Regions from separate parts of the Homo sapiens genome. Here region 1 is linked to region 2. Evidence: promoter capture Hi-C in 16 types of primary human blood cells and fetal thymus (Javierre and others, 2016). All regions are on one chromosome and are shown on one strand. Each heading gives the region's core, a stretch centred on a gene start or on the middle of the fragment in contact. The rest is flanking DNA. Distances are from core to core; before and after follow the strand shown. Region 1 overlaps STIM1 (stromal interaction molecule 1). Region 2 holds the start of CHRNA10 (cholinergic receptor nicotinic alpha 10 subunit).

Region 1 (6,732 bases), core at 2,452-4,951, 370 kb after region 2:
TCATTGATTTCCACTTTGATCTGTATTATTTTCTTTCATCTGCTACTTTGGATATCATTTGCTCTTTTATTTTTTAGTTTGGTAAGGTGAAAACTAAGGTCACCAGTATGAGACCTTTCTTCTTTTCTAATACAGAATTTAGTGCTGTAAATCTCCCTTAACTACTGCTTTAGAGGCATGTCCCAAATTCTGGTGTATTGTGTTTTTTTTTTTTTTTCCTCTTTTCCAACTGATTTATTAGTAGCGCAGACGAATAAAAATACCTAGAGTGAAGACACAATTAATGGCAAATGTTCTCCTATTACTTTTTTTCCTGATATAATCTTCAATAACTTAGTATCCCTTAATAATATGTTCTAATTTGAGAGATTCTTTTTGCCCTGGAAATGCATACCTTTAAAATCTGTTTTAGACCTTAGATCCATCCGTTATTGGTTTATCATTATATTGGATGAAATGTTGTGCTTTTTTTTTTGACTTAGCTCAAAATATTTTATATTTCCTTTTTGACATCTTTAGTTCACAAGTTATTTAGAAGCAAGTTATTTAGTTTCCAAACATTTGGAGATTTTTTTTAGACTTTTTTAGTTATTGATCTCTAATTTAATTCCATTGTGATCTGAGATCATACTTTATGTGACTTGAAGCCTTTAAAAAATTTTAAGATTTTTTTCTTTCATGTCCTAGGACATGGTCTATCTTGTTAAATATCCCATGTGCACTTGTATGTGTTCTGTTGGGTGGAGAGTTCTATAAATGTCAATCAGGTCTGTTTTTGTTGTTTTGCTTTTTTTTTTTTTTTTCAACTTTTAAGTTCCAGGGTACATGTGCAGGATGTGCAGGTTTGTTATATAGGTAAATGTGTGCCATGGTGGTTTTCTGCACAGATAACCCGTCACCTAGGTGTTTAGCCCTGCAGCCATTAGCTGTTCTTCCTGATGCTTTCGCTCCTCCCACTCCCCTGACAATGTATGTTGTTCCCCCTGATGTGTCTGTGTGTTCTCATCGTTGAGCTCTCACTTGCAAGTGAGAACATGCACTGTTTGGTTTTCCATTCTTGCGTGAATTTGCTGAGGATAACAGCTTCCAACTCTATTCATGTCCCTGCAAAGGACATGATCTCGTTCCTTTTCATGGGTGCATAGTATTCCATGGTATATATATACCACATTTTCTTTATGCAGTCTTTCATTGATGGGCATTTGGGTTGATTCCATGTCTTTGCTATTGTGAATAGTGCTGCAGTGAACATACATGTGCATTTATCTTTATAATAGAATGGTTTATATTCCTTTGGGTGTATACCCAGTAATGAGATTGCTGGGTCAAATGGTATTTCTGCTTCTAGATCTTTGAGGAATCACCACAGTGTCTTCCACAATGGTGAACTAATTTGCATTCCCACCAACAGTGTAAAAGTGTTCCTTTTTCTCTGCAACCTTGCCAGCATCTGTTGTTTCTTGACTTTTTAGTAATTGCCATTCTGACTGGTATGAGATGGTATCTCATTGTGGTTTTGATTTGCATTTCTCTAATGATCAGTGACGTTGAGCTTTTTTCATATGTTTGTTGGTCGCATGAATATCTTCTTTTGAGAAGTATCTGTTCATGTCTTTTGCCCACTTTTTAATGGGGTTGTTTATTTTTTCTTTGTATATTTGTTTAAGTTCCTTGAGGACTCTGGATATTAGACCTTTGTCAGATGGATAGATTGCAAACATTTTCTCCCATTCTGTACCATTCAGGACATAGGCACAGGCAAAAGTTTCATGATGAAAATGCCAAAAGCAAATGCAACACAAGCAAAAACTGACAAATGGGATCTAATTAAAGAGCCTCTGTATAGCAAAAGTAACTATCATCGGAGTGAACAGGCAACCTACAGAGTGGGAGAAAATCAGGTCATGTTGGTTGATGGTATTGTTCAAGTCTACATATCTTTATCAATTTTCCACCTACTTGTTCTATCTTTTTCCTTTCTTTTCTTTCTTTCTTTCTTTTTTTTTTTTGAGATGGAGTCTCGCTCTGTTGCCCAGGCTAGAGTGCAGTAGCATGATCTCGGCTCACTGCAACCTCCGCCTCCTGGGTTCAGGCAATTCTCCTGCCTCAGCCTCCTGAGTAGCTGGAATTACAGGTGTGTCCCACCATCCCTGGCTAGTTTTTGGATTTTTAGTAGAGACAGGGTTTCACCATGTTGACTGGTCTCGAACTCCTGACCTCAAGTGATCTGCCTTCCTCAACCTCACAAAGTACTGGAATTACAGGCGTGAGCCACTGCATCCAGCCTGCATACTTGTTCTATCAATTGTTAGAGAGGAGTATTTAAGTTTCCAGTTATAACTGTGGATTTGCCTATTTTTCCTTGTAGTTTCTGGTTCACGTATTTTGAAGCTCTGTTACTAGGTGCATAAAGATTTAGGATGATTATTTCTTAGTGATTAACTGACCCCTTCAACATTATGAAATGAACTGCTTTATCCTTCGTGGTAATCTTTGCTCTGAAATCTACTTTGATAAAAATATAGCTGTCTTTTGACTGTTGTTAGTTTGGAATGTCTTTTTCCATCCCTCTACATTTAATCTATTTGTATTTTTATATTTAAAGTACATTTCCTGTAGGTGCATATAGTTGGGTCCTATATATATATATGTATATTTTGCAATGTGACAATATCTGTTAATTGCATTATTTAGACCATTTACGTTTGGTGTGATTATTAATATGATTAATCAAATATGATTGATATGATTATTAATATAAGATAATTTAGGTTAGTCCATTTTCTTGCTATTTGTTTTCCGTTTGTCCCATCTGTTCTTTAATTCCTTTTCCTACCTTTTCTGCTTTCTTTTGGGTTAATTCAGTATTTTTTATAATTCAATTGTATTTTCTTTGTTGGCTTATTAGATATAACTGGTATTTTAGTGGTTGCTTTAGGAGATAAAAGATATGTATCTTTAACTCATCACAGTCTTTTTTTTTTTTTTGAGACAGAGTCTTGCTTTGTAACCCAGGCTGGAGTGCAGTGGTGTGATCTTGGCTTACTGCAACCTCTGTCTCTTGGGTTCAAGAGATTCTCGTGCCCCAGCCTCCTGAGTAGCTGGAATAACAGGTGCATGCCACTACGCCCAGCTAATTTTTGTATTTTTAATAGAGATGGGGTTTTGCCATGTTGGTCAGGCTGGTCTCGAACTCCTGACTTCAGGTGATCCGCCTACCTCGGCTTCCCAAAGTACTGGTGTTACAGATCTGAGCCACTGCACTGGGCCTACTTTCAAGATATATTATAACATGTCACATGTAGTATAAGAAGCTTCCAGTAGCACATATACCCTAAAACTTAAAGTATAATAATAAAAAAAAAAAGAAGCTTCCAGTAGTGTATTTTCATTTCCCTCTCTCAAGCTTAGATTTTAATCCTTGCACTGTGGCTTGGAAATTCAAGGCCATAAGCTGGGGCAATTGTATAACTTCCCTCATTTGTTTCCTATCTCTCAAGAGTCATTGTCCTTTGTAGGCTGATGTCCAGTGTCCTGAAAACCATTATTTCATATATGTTGTCTTTTTTGGGAGGGGTAATTTTAATTCAGGAGGGAGGGTAAATTCCATCTCTGGTACTTCAGCTTACCCTGAAACAGAAGTGTCAGCTGAATCTTCTTTTGCTTGGGCCGTTGTTCTTCATATACCATTATTCTTGGCCCAGCCTAGCTCTACTGCTATGTATCTTTCACTTGGTTCCAGATCTGACGAGGTCTTTGCTTACATTTTTCAGAGTTTTCCCATTTTTCTCTCATACATGAAACAAACAAGTTAGGGCATCAAATTTCTGGGTGTAAGAAATATTCTCAAATGGAAGTTGGAGAAATAAAGATACTGTTAAAAATGTTACAAGTAAATACCTGTATAGCAATAAATAGTAATCATGTTATTTTGAAAGAATAAATACTGGCTTTCCTATTGGTCGGATAACCCTTCAGCTTGTGTAGGAGTAGCGATAAGCTTAGATCACAACTGCTGTCTCATTTGAGACTCAACAGAATAAGATATCCAAAGCTTAGTAATTTTTGATGAAAAAAAATTATAGAAAATGTTGGCTCTGTGTGGTGACTCATGCCTGCAATTCCAGCCCTGTGAGAGGATCACTTGAGCCCCAGAGGTTGAGGCTACAGTGAGCTATGGTCATGCCACTGTACTTCAGCCTGGGTGACAGAATGAAACCCTATCTCTGAAAAAAAGAAAGAAGCTGGGCGTGGTGGCTCATGTCTGTAATCCCATCACTTTGGGAGGCTGAGGCAGGTGGATCACAAGGTCAGGAGTTCAAGATCAGCTTGGCCAACATGGTGCAACCCCGTCTCTACTAAAAATACAAAAATTAGCTGGGCATGGTGGCGGGCACCTGTAATCACGGCTACTCGGGAGGCTGAGGCAGATAATTGCTTGAACCCAGGAGGCAGAGGTTGCAGTGAGCTGAGATCATGCCACTGCACTCCAGCCTGGGCAACAGAGTAAGACTCCATCTCAAAAAAAAAAAAAAAAAAAACGAAAGAAAGAAAATGTCAGTGATTTTTTTTTCATGTTTATCTGTGAGATGTTAGTCAGATGTATTGAAATTAAATGTCCATCTGTAATCTCAAAATGAATTACCTTATCTGGGAGAAAAGAGTAATATGTACACATAAATAAAAATCTGATGATATTTTATTTTATTATATTGTACTTTTTGATGGTGTCTCACTCTGTTGCCCAGGCTGGAGTACAGTGGCGTGATCTTGGCTCACTGCAACCTCTGCCTCCCAGGTTCAAGTGATTCTCCTGCCTCAGCCTCCCAAGTAGCTGGGTTTGCAGGTGCCCACGATGACGCCCAGCTAATTTTTTGTATTTTTAGTAGAGATGGGGTTTCATCATGTTGGCCAGGCTGGTCTTGAACTCCTGACCTCATGTGATCTGCCTGCCTCGGCCTTCCAAAGTGCTGGGATTACAGGTGTAAGCCACCGTGCTCAGCCCTGATGGTATTTTATATCTTGAGAGTTTATTTATATTTTAATGCTGTAGTTCTCTGTTATTCCTTATCTACCTCTGTGGTATTGGCCCTAGAAGGTAGTGTTTTTCTCCTATAATTTATGTAAACATTTCTGTGTTAAAAATTTACTGAGTACCTTCTATATACTAGGCATTGTGCTAGATGAGTTTAGCATACAAGGTCCATGCTTATTTCTCTGATCTACTTGTTTTCCATCATTCCACACCACATCTCCTCTGGAAGTGCACTGCTTTATTGGCAGTTCCTAGGAAATGTTGTTCTTTTTCATCCCATGGTGCTTTCATATATGCTGTTTCCTCTATTCATCTTTCTCATTTGTTGATCTGTTTAAAACTCAATTAATCATTTCTTTAAGTCTTCTTCCCTGAAAACCACAGGCTAAGTTAGGTGTCTTCTTCTGTGTTCCCACAGCCCCTATCTCTTCACAGCCCTTAGCACACTAAATGCAAAGATCTGTTCCACTGCCGGTTTTCCCATCAGACTACTGGAGTGCAGCATTTTATATGATTTTATCTCTTAATACTTAGCACAGGGCCTGGCCCAGAGTAGGAATGCAGCACACAAAAATGTGTCCTTGACTGTTTGATTGTGTGATCTTAGATAAGTTGTTTGGCCTACCCAACATTTCATAGCACCTAGGTTCTCTTACTACTCTGCAGCCATGCTGCCAGACTTCTCTAATCTGTCTCTACTAACCTTGTGGTTTCTCTCTTGGTGGTCTTTAATAGCATGTCCTGTTGGGCCCTGGGAGACCTGGTTTTTGCCTGGTAGCCTAGTGAGCCTATCACATGAGGCCTAGGCCAGATTATTTTTGCAATGATGGTTCAGGGTTTGATAATGACATCAGATTAGAAAATGAAGACCTTTACCTCACTGTAGTCCCAGATGAGAAGCTGCTAGTGGGAACCAGAAGGAAGCTACTTAAAGAGACAATTCACAGTTCCAGGTCACACACTATCTTTAGGAAGGGCCACTTTGGAAGGATTTGATAGCTGCCTTGGAGTGCTGTTATTCAGAGCAGACCAATAAGAAGCTGGGTTTTGTGATGCCTTTTCTGATTCTGTCAGTCACTCCTTTCTCTGTGCTCCCACATCACCTTATATATCCCTGTGACCTAGCATTTATCACACTATATTATATTCATTTGTTTCCTTGTATATTCCCCTCTCTAGAAGAGAGCCCTTGAGGCTGGAGTTCATGCATATTCACCTCTGTGCTGGTTAACTCACCCTTTACCTGCTAGAGTAGAAGCCAATAAAAGCTTAGTGAATGAATGAATAAATGAATGGCGATAATAATTATAGATGATTTTTTTTACACTTATAGTATGCTAGGAGCTTCCCTTTACTACATTTTTATGATGTGAAAACTCTGATTTTCATCATTTTGGTGGTGAAAAAAATGAGGCACAAAATATTAAGTAATTTGCCCATGGTCTTACATCTAGTAAGTGGCAGATTGCAAATTCAAATCAAGACACCTGGTTTCAAAGTTCACATTCTTCTTTTTTTTTTTGAGATGGGATCTTTGCTATCACTCAGGGTGGAGTGGTGCAATCTTGGCTCACTCTAGCCTCAACTCCAGGTGATCCTCCCACCTCAGCCTCCCAAGTAGCTGGGACTACAGGTGCGCGCCATCACACACAGCTAATTTTATTTTTTGTAGAGACGAGGTCTCACTTTGTTGCCCA
Region 2 (6,530 bases), core at 3,112-5,611:
GTTCCATCATCAAGGGCCAAGTCGTGAGGGGTGTTCTCCCTGGAAGGAGCTAATCCTTTCCCCTCAGTCTTAAAATGAGGGCACGTTCCCAGGACGCCCCCCTCTCACTTTCTGCAGTGGGGCCGTTCCGCAGACCCAGGCCCTGTCGCGGCCCCGCCCTGGGGGGACCCCAGCGCATCGTCAGGTCCCCCCGCGCCCCCGCTGCTCACCGATGAGCGGCACGCTCTCGGCCGGTGGCATGCTCTCGGCCAGCAGCAACTGGAAGACGGTGAGCGCCAGCAGCACGGTGACGCCCAGCGACACCTTCTCGCCTGAGTCGGCAGGCAGGTGGAAGGCGAGCGGCGCAAGCAGCGAGATGAGCACGCAGGGCAGCAGCAGGTTGCACACGTAGGCGGCGGCGCGGCGGCGCAGCAGCAGCGTGAAGGTGACGTCGGGGTAGGGCTCGGAGCAGCAGCCGTAGGTGAGCACGCGCCGCCGCGCCGGCATGCCCAGCACGCGCCACTCCACGTTCTCCACGAAGTCCGCCAGGCTGGCTGCAGCGCCGCGCGGCCGCACATCCAGTTGGTGCCCGCCGTGAGTCCAGGAGCCGAACGTCAGGCCGCAGTGCTGGGCGTCGAACGGGAAGGCTGCTACATCCACGCGGCACGAGCTGCGCGTGATGGCCGGCGCGTCCCAGCGCACGGCGCCATCGTGGCGCAGGACCACGTTGGTGCTGGCGGAACCTGGAGGCTGCGCGTCGGCTCTGGGGGCAGGCGGGGCAGGGCTCACCTAGGCTGTCCAGCCTGAGGAGCAGCCCCGGAGGCCGGGAGCCCAGGGCAGACCCCCAGGGGCTGAAAGAAACCAAAACTTCTCCCCAGAATATTGAGGCTCGTTAAGTTCGAGACACTCACGACGCAGGGGAGCACCTGGCCCCAGCGTCTGCTGGCCTGATGGCAGGACATCAGCCCTTCCTTGCTGGAGTCAGCACTTGCTTATCCAAAGGGCACCAGTAGGTGCCAGAGGAATCTGGAAACAGATTTTACCCTCTTTCCACGTTTTCCCGCCTTTTAAAGGTGGCTGTCCTTTGTCTTGCCACTATTTATAACTTACTGGCTCTTTCTTGAATTTCTATTTAAGCAAGGCCCCTAAGTCACTGCCTTCAGAGAGAAATACTTTTGAACTAAGGCCTCTCCCATGATGGGTACAGCAGATTAATAAACTTCTGCTTGTGGCTGGGTGCGGTGGCTCACGCCTGTGATCCCAGCACTTTGGGAGGCCGAGGTGGGCGGATCACGAGGTCAGGAGATCGAGACCACCCTGGCTAACACGGTGAAACCTCGTCTGTACTAAAAATACAAAAAACTAGCTGGGCGTGGTGGCGGGTGCCTGCAGTCCCAGTTATTTGGGAGGTTGAGGCAGGAGAATTGCGTGAACCCGGGAGGCGGAGCTTGCAGTGAGCCGAGATAGCGCCACTGCACTCCAGCCTGGGCGACAGAGCGAGACTGTGTCTCAAATAAATAAATAAACTTGTGCTTGTTTTTTTTTCGTTAATTTGATTCTTGTTTTCAGAACAAAGCAACACAGAGGGTGGAGTGCACCTAGAGAGACCCGCTGCCTTTCGAGGCCTGGAAGGGGTGGTGCCTGAAGGGCCCAGAAGGGACACAGACGTAGCCAGAGGATGTATAAAAAGGCCTCTGCAGAACCCAGAGGTAGCTCCGGGACACACAGTGACTTCCCTTGGGGGACATCTGCAAAACTTGTAGAAGGGCCCCAGAGAAAATATGCAGAGCTATGTGCTGGCTGGGAGACACGGAACTGGTCAAGGAGACATAAAGCAGTGTTCCAGAGGGCTATGTCCTGGAGGAAAGAGACCCTTACACAGGCTCTTCGGGGAGCCCTGAGAGACTTAGAGCTAAAAGTGTGCCCTAGAGAGGCCCTTGTGATTCAGACAACTGCCCTGGACCACACAGTAGGTTCCGAGGAGACGTTCAGCCTGGGCTGGCCTGGGATAGCCTAAAGTGGGGGTGCCATGGAGGGGCTGAGTGCCTGGCAGCTTAGAAGGGTCCTGGGGAAAAGCTTCCAGGGCAGCGTGGCAACCAGGTTATGTGGTAGGGAGAGGGGATCACTACACCCCCACAGCTAAGGGCAAGTCTAGAGAGGGGTAAGAGAGAGGAGGGGCCCAGATAGGCAGTACTTGTTATAGAGTACGATGTCTGGCCGCCACACAAGACTGCTGGGGATGCGGATGGCATCCAGGCCACCATAGGCATTGGGGTCCCATCGTAGGTAGGCATCTGTCCACTCCTGCCGTATCCACAGATACAGGGTCAGCACCTGGTTCCGTTCATCCTAGTGGGGGCAGGGAATGGCAGAGATGTGGACATGTATATGCATATCCTGCCCTGTCTGTGCACACTCCCCTGCAGGGCTCTGGTCAGCACCCACAAACCTGACTTGTCCATACCGTCCAGTTCCCACCCAGACCTGACCTTGCCATGTGACCTTAGTGGGCTCTTCTCTTTTCTGCCCCTGTTTCCTCAGCAGGAATATGGGGTGAGAATCCCTGCTTAGCAGGGATTCAGTAAGTTCAGGTGAACAAAATATTGGGCACGAGGTAGGCACCCAATACTCAGTACCCAACAGTCAGTACCCAACAGTTTGTAACTGCTACCTTTGTTAATATTAACATTTACAGAAAAGAAATTCCATGGAGAATAATCCCAGTCTCTCACCCCTTCATTTCTTGACACTGTGACAGGTAAGACTCCACAGCTGTACCACCACCACAACGCACCATGTCGATGATCTGGGACAGTGTCACCTCCAGGGTCACATTCAGAGTCTGGTCTGTGTCTGCCACAGGTCTCAGGGCACTTGTGTAGTTGGCAAAGAGGTCACGGAACAGCTTGAGAGCCAGCCGGCCCTCAGCTCCCAGGCACTCTGGAGGGTCAGTAAGGAGGGTTGTCCATCCCAGGCCCTAGTCCCAGGGCCTCTGCTCACACCCTCCACTCCCAGGGCTGGGGCCCTGTCCTTATGAGTGTCCTCCTGGTGTCTGCCTTCTCTTGCTCTAGCTGTGGCTCTAGTTCCTCCCTGGCCTGCCTGCAGGGACACATGAGGTAAAGGCCATGGAGTGAACTGGTACTATCTTCTGGCGCCAGGCTGACAAATTTCTCCTCCACCCTCCCCTTTTCAAGGACCTGGAGTCTGCCTGCCTCTCCACAAATGCTAGAGGGGCCCAAATAAGCCACAAGAGTCCAGACTTTCACCCAGGGATTCTAAACCCCACTGCTCTGCCCCCTCCAGTATCTCTCAAACCTGTTTCCACTTCTCCATCTCGAGCTGGTTTCTTCAAAACTTCTGATGCGATGGAACACTCCCTCACTCTGAAAACACACTTCCCCAGGCTTTACTGACACAAATTTTCCTCAATCCCTGACCTAAACATTGTTCCCATGAATCCTGTCCTTGGCTCCCATCTTTTTCTTCATCCCAGATTTTTCTCCTGAGCTCCAGACCCCAATAGAGTACAGTCCACTCCTGAGTTTCCCACAGGCACCTTCAACTCTGAGGGTCCAAAATATGAACTCGCTTCCTCCCTCCATGCTCTGAAACCTGCTTCCTATCCCATGTTCCCTATCTCAGCAAATAGCATGCCCTCAGCTTCAACAGTGACCTTAGTTGGAAATCTGGGAATTATCCCTCCCTTCTCCCTCTGCTGCCTCCTCCTCGGGGAATCCAGTTAATCTCCAGATCCTGTCAGATCATTCAAATCCTCCAGATTTTGCGAAACATCGTCTTGAGTCTACCCTCTCCCCTCCAGGTCAGGGCCCTCCCTTCACTGTCTCCCTTTCCCCAAAGGCTCACCTTCTTCTACCCCTCCCATGCCCCAGGACCACGCTTTTAAGCATGCACATCTGACCAGGCTAGTATGCTGCTGAAACCTTTCAGTGCTCCCCGTCATCTGCAGGAGAAAGACCTGGCCTGGCCGGCAGGCCCTTCAACATCTGGCCCCTCTGATTTTCCCAGCCCTGTCTCTGGAAGCTCCCCGCTCACTGTTTCCACCCTAGCCAGGCAAGTCTCCTCTCACGCACTTCAGCACCCCTCTCCTCCACACTCCCCAAATAGAGAGCTTGTTCTCAGAACAGGTACTGAGGAGAAACACAAGAGAGACTACATGGAAAGGGATTTTGGGAGAACAGGAATAGTAGCACCACCAGGAGAGGCCAGGGCTGGTGTACTGAGCTTCATACCTGCAGGGAGTAGAAACAGAAGCAGAAGGCCCAGGCTGAGGTGGTGGCTCCGGAGCCCCATGGCCCTGGCACTGCAAGAGCGGGGGCAGGTCTCTGGATGTGAGGCCTCCTGGCCAGACCTAGGGCAAAATTAGGCCCAGCTGGCAAGGATGGTGTGGACAGTACCTAGAAGTCAGAAGTAAGACAGATCTCTGGTGGGTCCAGCCACCCTCCAGCGAGCCCTGCAGCCCCTCCAGTCTTCTGACCCTCCAATTTGTGCCTGCCCCTGGATTTTAGTACTTGGTCTTTCTTCTTCTCTGCTGGTCCTTGCCTCTTCTGGCCTCTGCCTCTGCCCTTTCCTATGCTCCCCACCTGCTTTGTCTTTCACTCTGTTTCTGCTTCCTTCTCTTTCCGTCTGTAACTTTCTTGGTCTCTCTGCCTCCCTGACTCTGATCATCCCCTGCCTGCCTCTTTCCACTCTCTCTCCCTTTCTCCTACTTCTGTTTCATCCCTCATTCCTTCCTTCTTCCATTCCCCACACCTGGACTCTAGATGGGCCTGCTGCTCTCTCAGCAGAACAGGGACCAGGGACTCCTCCCTTGATCAGCCCAGAGTCGTCCGAGGCACAGGACCACAGCCCCTCCCTCTCTGCCCTTTCATTAGCTTAATTACACCGTGCCTATGACAACAGAGCAACGGAAACTGATACCTCGGGCCTCTGGGGCTTGAATTATTCAAACTCTGTAAAGCAGCACACAGACTCAGCTCAGGCCCATCCTCGGGTGTTGGAGAGTACAGGTATGCTGGGTCAGGGTATGTGGAAGACCAGGGCTTAAGAGTGTGAGGGGCCAGGGTCAGTGGATGGATAACTGTCCTCTCATCTTAGCCACCATTGCCTGAATTCTGGAGGTGGAGGTTTGCCTTAGACCTGCAGCTCTCCTTGCAGTGCGGGACTAGACACTCCAGGCTAGGCACTTTGGGTCAAGCAAGCCCTTCCCTCCTGGTGGGAGTAGTGCTGAGCCTCAGGCCACTCCAGATGACCCAGTGGAGCAGAAGATGGAGCCCACATCCTCTCCTCAGACTCCCTGCAGTCATTCCCATCTGAGCCTGTTTTTTCACCTTGCCCAAACACTGTGGGCAGTGTGGGAGAAGAGGGCAAGCATTCAGTCACTTTCGGCCCTGTCTTATGAGCGCTCTCACTTGGGTAAGATATTTAAACTCTCTGGGTTTCTGTTCTCTCAATCTGGTAATGGGATTAACAGTACTCATCTTGAAAACTGCAAGGATTTAAATGAGATAACCTGATAGTGCAAGGCACTGTCTAGCACGGTGCCTAAGGTACAGCAGGTCATCAACAATATTTACACTGTGGTCCCAGTAAGGTAGCCAGGCTATCCTCAGGTCACAGGTATTTATCATGCACAGAGTTTTGATTATTTTTGTTCAAGCTGACCAGTTGCCTGACCAACAGCAGCACATACTTCCCTGGCAATCACATCCATAGCCATGACTTTGGGCATCGTGGATATGCCAGTGATTCCCTGCACTTTCTCCACCCGTCCCCTCTCCCAGGTACTCTGCTTATCTCCAACCACCTTCCTAACACACAAGCGTTTCACATCATTTCAAATTGAAATCCAACATTCACTTATTCAAGCTAGTAGAGGGGAACTGTCCTTAACTTGTTAAAGAACAACTACCAAAATACCCTACAGCCATCCTGCCACCTCAGCCTCCTGAATAGCTGGAACTAAAGGTGCACACCACCCAGCTAATTTTTGTTCATTTTTTAAGAGACAAGGTCTCCCTATGTTGCCTAGGCTGGTCTTAAACTCCTGGGCTCAAGGGATTCTCCCTCCTCAGCCTCCCGAGGTGCTGGGATTACAGGCGTGAGCCATCGTGCCCAACCAATACAAGGTTTAACAAATCCTTAGGAAAGCCTAAGAAATGAACATTTAAAGCAGAAATTAAGATTATACAGAACTCCAGTAAAATTGATTAATACGTCTAAGGACTGGTTATTTGAATAACAAAAAATCTGGAACAATTTTCTGGAAATACAAATTAACAAAACTGAGCTAAAGATGAAACATCTAAAAAGAGCAGATACTCTGCAGGCCTTTGCTTAATTATTCCAATATTTAATTCTCCAGACCTCTGTTAACTTTGGGTTCTGTTGAGAAAATAAGTTATTTGAATGTTGTAGATTCCACAGATCTATCGAATGTTGAGGTAACTGGTTCCTGTTTTATGTTTTTGAGAATTTTTTTTGAAATTAAAACATTTTTTACTATTTCAACGGGATTTTGGGATGTGGAAGAG

What was found. The method cuts DNA at HindIII sites, captures the fragments that hold promoters and counts their contacts. A CHiCAGO score of 5 or more calls a contact.
Region 1: a fragment that was not itself captured here is called in contact with the fragment with the promoter of CHRNA10 in region 2 in 6 of 17 cell types (total CD8 T cells, non-activated CD4 T cells, total CD4 T cells and 3 more); the score reaches 6.0 in total CD8 T cells.

What each region holds. Positions count from the first base shown.
Region 1 is chr11:4,035,065-4,041,796 of GRCh38, forward strand. All of the region lies in intron 3 of STIM1 (stromal interaction molecule 1), which reads left to right. Among named protein-coding and RNA genes, the nearest start is that of RRM1, 56 kb to the right of the region's middle. The HindIII fragment of the contact is 594 bases long and covers 3,405-3,998 here.
Region 2 is chr11:3,667,023-3,673,552 of GRCh38, forward strand. CHRNA10 (cholinergic receptor nicotinic alpha 10 subunit) reads right to left here and starts at 4,362. Exons shown (of 5, transcript NM_020402.4): 1 at 4,230-4,362; 2 at 2,774-2,919; 3 at 2,174-2,328; 4 at 210-742. The coding sequence starts at 4,290. The HindIII fragment of the contact is 7,798 bases long and covers 2,054-6,530 here.